Linked DNA regions of Homo sapiens: region 1 is linked to region 2. Evidence: promoter capture Hi-C in 16 types of primary human blood cells and fetal thymus (Javierre and others, 2016). All regions are on one chromosome and are shown on one strand. Each heading gives the region's core, a stretch centred on a gene start or on the middle of the fragment in contact. The rest is flanking DNA. Distances are from core to core; before and after follow the strand shown. Region 1 overlaps LMAN2 (lectin, mannose binding 2). Region 2 holds the start of SLC34A1 (solute carrier family 34 member 1).

Region 1 (2,836 bases), core at 294-2,793, 37 kb before region 2:
AAGCCTAGTAATATACCATTTATAAGAGAAAACGCTAAAACATAAAGAAATGGGAAAAAGTAAAAGGACAGGAAAAATGTATCATGCAAACACTAACCAAAAGCAAGCTTCTGCTCCTTCAGGAAGACAGGGCCACAGGCGCTGCAGAGCTGTGGTCTGCCCGCTCCTGCTCCTGCCTCACCACTGTTTGCTCTGGCTGAGGAACAAGTTGGTCAGGAAGGCTCGCAGCAGCCATGGCATGCATTTATTTATTTATTTATTTATTTATTTATTTATTTATTTATTTATTTTTTGAGACAGTCTCGCTCTGTCGCCCAGGCTGGAGTGCAGTGGCATAATCTCAGCTCTCTGCTACTTCTGCCTCCCAGGTTCAAGCAATTCTCCTGCCTCAGCCTCCAGAGTAACTGGGACTACAAGCGCCCGCCACCACACCCAGCTAATTTTTGTATTTTTAATAGAGACGGGGTTTCACCGTGTTGGCCAGGATGGTCTCGAACTCCCGACCTCAGGTGATCTGCCTGCCTCGGCCTCCCAAAGTGCTGGGATTACAGGCGTGAGCCACCGCACCCGGCCCACCCACGGCTTTAAAGATACCTGAAGAAAACCTGCGGAGCCAGAGGTGACAATTCACTGAATCTGAATCACTTTAATGAGCTGCAACATAGAATCCCCAGAAAAGGTGTGTGCTGACTTGATCAGAGGAGCAAAGGAAAAGAATCTCAAAGTGAAAAGACCAGCTGGAACGCCTATCAAGGCTTCGAGAATCACCACAAGAAAAACTCCTTGTGAAGGTTCTAACACACGGGATCGTTTCCAGATGAGAATCCACAAGTGGCTCACTGACCTCCACAGTCCTTCTGAGATTAAGCAGATTACTTCCATCAGTATTGAGCCAGGAGTTGAGGTGGAAGTCACCATTGCAGATATTTAAAGTTGACTATTTTAATAAATTGATTACCGGTTGTTGTTTTTTTTTTAAAAAAAGCAAGCTTCTATAGCTATACCCATAACAAAATGTAAAAAGGGGTTCTTCTTAATGATAAAAGATTCCATTTACCTACAGATATAATAAATCTAAGTTTTTGTATGTACCTAATTTGGCCTCAAAACATATAAAACAGAAACTGACAGAACTACAAAGATGCAGACAAATCCATATACAGAAATTTTTTTAACACTTTTTTTTTTTTTGAGATGGGGTCTTACTATGCTGCCTGGGCTGGTTTTGAACTCCTTGACTCAAGCAATCCTCCTGCCTCAGCCTCCCCAGTAGCTGACACTTACAGGCACGTGTCACCTTGCCCAGCCATACACAGAAATTTTTAACAAAGCTCTCTTAGTAACTTATAAAAGCAAGCAGACAAAAACATGAGGAAAGCTAGAGAAGATCCGAACTCAATCTTAACCCTGGCTGCACAGCAGACCCACCTGGGAAGCTCAGAAAGCAAGTTTGACCTAAAGAACCTACGTGGCACACTGTAGTCAACAAGTAGAGAATCCACATTCATAAGCACAAACAGAACGCGTCCAAAAAATCTGACCATGATGCAATTCCATCAGCTATCTAACAATAATAAACAATTTTAAAAGATAACTAAAATAGCCCTCATATATTTGAAAACTTTAAAAAAAAATATCTCACATGTACAAAAGTCAGCCCAGAAACCAGATTTCAAATGGTCTCTTTGGTGCCCAGGAGTTTTCTGCACCTGGGGACAACACCCTGAAGAAAGACCAGGCTGTTGGGAGGCTGACCTCAGAGCAGAAGGGCAACTGAGTGAGGGAGGTGGGAAAGGAAAACCCACACACCCATTCCCAGCATGTTCACGGGGAGGCTGGTTTCAGGAATGAGCACATGAGACAGTGGAGGACCTGGAAACAGACTCCTCCAGGACTACGCAGGCCTTGGAAAGTCTTCATGACCCCAGATTAAAACTGCAGATTAGTAGAGACATACTATGATACAGACAATAGAAGGCCTCTGGAGGATCTTAAGCAGGCAAGGCACAGGCTGGAAATGATTCAGAAGCTGCTTTTGGGGACAAACACGATATGACCACAGTTCTTAACCCACAGCAAACCCACCTGGGGAGCTCAGAAAGCTTAATGCCTTGGTCCTACACCAGGCCAACTACATCAGAATCACCTGGCAATAAGAGGCTATTTTACAGTTCAGCAGTTTCCACATCTCTGCTTGCAACGAAACGGAATGCAGATGTAATCAACAGTCAGCCGAAACATCATCAAAAATTTTGATAAAAGATCACTGCATGACGTTGGGTTTATAAACCAAAAGAAGATCAAAATATTCAGTGATGCTGCTCTACCAAAACTCCCGCTGTGCCAGGCACAGTGGTGGTGAGCACCTGTGTCCCAGATACTCAGAGGCTGAGGTGGGAAGATTGCTTGAGTCCAAGAGTTCAAGATAAGACTGGGCAACATAGTAAGATCCCATCTATAATAGAAATTTAAAATTTTAAAAATAACCCCATCTCCAACTACTATTTAAGAGAACACAGTTTCTCAGAATTCATGTACATAAAAACAAAAAGTAGAAGTGGTACTGAACTTGTCTTATTCTGACAGTATTATCCATCCAGATGGGGGTGGGGGGTGACATCCTACTGAGATCTCATGTTTCAAAAAATGTTTACTTTTGTATAATTACTCAAAAACTGTGTAATGCATTTACTTTTATCAAGTGTGTACAGATAATTATAATAATCTCAAACAAAATATTAAAAGTTTCAGTCTCAACAAAATTGAAAAGTTTAAATTATTATATTAATTTTACTTGCAGAAGAATATGGTAGGCTAATGAATAACATTTTCAAGC
Region 2 (2,845 bases), core at 6-2,505:
GCTGTGTAAATCAGCAGCATTTTGGAATTATATCTCTTGATGGATTTGATCGATAGCTAACTGCCTCCCCCACTAAACCCAGAGCTCCGTGACAGCAGGGAAGGCAAACTTCAAAAATATCAAAAAGCACAACCTTATTAAAAAGGAGAAACACCCCCAGTTCACCAGGAGCACCTTGGATTCAGCTGCTCCTGCCAAGGGTCTGAACTGCACGGGGGAATGGAGAGAAACAGGTCACGTGGGCCGGGGTCTCTGGGCCCGCTGTGGGGGTGTCAGTTTGCTCATAGGTGGAGACACTCGATGTGACATTAACAGCACCTTCAAGCCCAAGGACCCAGAGATTCTGACACAAGAACTGAGAACTGATTGCATTTCCGTGACTCAGCGACACCCTCCTACCTGGGCATGAACCCAGCCCTAGCCAAAGATCCAGAGACCCGACTCCCATCTATTTCCTTTTCCTCTCTCCCTCCCCGTCACCAATTCTACTGGTCAGATGTCCCTGGGATGCACCTGTCCTCCCCAGCCCCTCCGTTCCCATCGGAGTTCAGGCCTCATCATCTCCTGCCTGGACCATTAGCCTCTTAACTGGCCCCTCCGCTTCCAGGCTCCCTTCCATATATCCGGGTTCCACCCCGGGGGCCATTCTAAAAGGCAGATCAGGCCCATCCCAGTCTGGCCAGCGGCTCCACATTCACTCAGACTCACATCCTGGACCCATGGTCGGGCATTAGAGACCTGCCACGATTCAACATTCCACGGCCTTTCCAGCTTAGGTCCTCATCTCACACTCCCTCTCCTCTGAGCTCCCCCTGGGAGACTTACAGACACCCCGACGCTTGGCAAGGCCATAGGATGTTTTTGTTTGGTTTGGTTTGGTTTTTCTGAGACAGTCTCACTCTGTCACCCAGGCTGGAGTGCAGTGGCACGATCTTGGCTCACTGCAACCTCCGAAGGCCATAGGATGTTTGGGTCATTCCCTGGGGAGTCCTGTCAGGCCAGGAACGAGGGGACCCTGGGAACAAGGTGCTGAGTGGCATCAGGGTCTCTGCCTGCAGGCGGGGGATGTGTCTGGGTCGTGGTTGATGGGAAGAACCTGACCATAGATTCCCCATGCAGAGCTGACGATTAGCAATTAACTGGGAGGAATCTCAGGGGTGAGGTTAATTGGGGGACAGAGGGAGGGCAGCTAGGGTTCCAGGGACTTTGCCCTTGACCCAAGAGTATAAAGAGGAGGGTCTCAGTTCTCCTCAGGGTCCTGGAGGCTTCATTGAGCTGCTGAGCAGAAGCTGAAACACAGAATTCTAAGGTGAGCCCAGGACCCTCACATCCCAACCCCACCCCCAGCTCTGAGTAGGAAACAGCCCAGCACCCCAGCCCCTTCATCTGTGTCCTATCTGCGCCCACCCCCACCGCGCCCCATATAACATGTCAGTCCAGCCAATCGCGGTGGCTCCCACCTGTAATCCCAGCACTTTGGGAAGCCGAGTGGGCGGATCACCTGAGGTCGAGTTTGCACTAAAAATACAAAAAATTAGCCAGGTGTGGTGGCAGGCACCTGTAATCCCAGCTACTTGGGAGGCTGAGGCAGGAGAATCGCTTGAACCCACGAGGCAGAGGTTGCAGTGAGCCAAGATTGTGCCACTGCACTCCAGCCTGGGCGGTAAGAGTGAAACTCCATCTCAAAAAAAAAAAAAAAAAGGACTCCTGCTCCTTCAGGACTTGAATTCAACTCTTCACACCCCTACAACAGCCAAGGACGCTGGGACAATGCGGGGAGTGCTGAGGCAGATCAGGGCACTCCACCCCAATAGCCAAGACTCCTGGGGCAGTGCGGGGACAAGGGGGGGCTGAGGCAAGCCTGTCAGTGTTTGTTCATTGCCCCTTGAGGGGGTGGATGGGGAAAGGAATTCATTGTGAGGGGAACCCAGGAACTCGGGATCCGGCCCAGGGGATCTCCGTGTGTGCCCAGCTGACCCCATGAGAAGGCAGGTGTCTGCAGCTCCTCCTTGCTCTCCAGGTGGGCAAAACTGAAGCCCGGCCCAGCCCCAGCCCACACCTGCAGCCACTGCCAACACCACGTATTCCCTGGCCCCCTCCAGCCCCAAACAGGCTGGGCGTCCTCAGTTCTCAGTGTCTTTTATCAATGCTATATCCAAGCCTCTGGTTCGGAGCCTGGGCTAGAGCTCAATAATACTCATTGAATGAGTGAATGGTGAATGAATGATCACCTCACCACCACCACACACACCCCTCCGAGACTCACATGCAGGTGCCCAGCACAGATGTGCACATGTGAGTCTGCATGTGAGTCTCGGAGGGCTGTGGTGGTGATGATGGAGGGTGTGGTTTGCTGGGTGTGTGTTTGTGCGTGTGAGTCTCGGAGGGGTGTGTGTGTGTGGTGAGGATGGAGGGTGTGCTTTGCTAGGTGTGTATTTGGAATCATGCGCCATGGGGGTTTGTGCAGGTGAGGGTGTGTGGGCATGAGTGTCCCGGACACAGCTATTGTCATTCAGCGTTGCTGAGACCCACTGACCTGCAGACCTCATAGTGGGTGCCCAGGATGTTGTCCTACGGAGAGAGGCTGGGGTCCCCTGCTGTCTCCCCACTCCCAGTCCGTGGGGGGCATGTGATGCGAGGGACGGCCTTTGCCTACGTGCCCAGCCCTCAGGGTAAGTGCTGCTCCCACACCCTGGACCCTGGTTGCCCACGGTTGCCCACATCCCGGATGAGGCCACTTCCCCCGCCTGTTCCTCCCCGCCTCCCCACTTTGGGGCCCTGGGGCTCCTGACCAGGCTCCCTCCCTAGTCCTACACAGGATCCCGGGGACCTCTGCCTATGCCTT

What was found. Contacts are between HindIII fragments. The CHiCAGO score rates a contact against its expected background, and 5 or more counts as called.
Region 1: a contact is called between a fragment that was not itself captured here and the fragment with the promoter of SLC34A1 in region 2, in 9 of 17 cell types (non-activated CD4 T cells, total CD8 T cells, activated CD4 T cells and 6 more). The highest score is 8.5, in non-activated CD4 T cells.

What each region holds. Positions count from the first base shown.
Region 1 is chr5:177,345,495-177,348,330 of GRCh38, forward strand. The region is part of intron 2 of LMAN2 (lectin, mannose binding 2); the gene reads right to left. It also overlaps the pseudogene RPS20P17. Among named protein-coding and RNA genes, the nearest start is that of LMAN2, 4.8 kb to the right of the region's middle. The HindIII fragment of the contact is 1,113 bases long and covers 988-2,100 here.
Region 2 is chr5:177,383,179-177,386,023 of GRCh38, forward strand. It overlaps SLC34A1 (solute carrier family 34 member 1), which reads left to right and starts at 1,256. Exons shown (of 13, transcript NM_003052.5): 1 at 1,256-1,309; 2 at 2,517-2,672; 3 at 2,809-2,845. The coding sequence starts at 2,564. The HindIII fragment of the contact is 19,795 bases long and covers 1-2,845 here.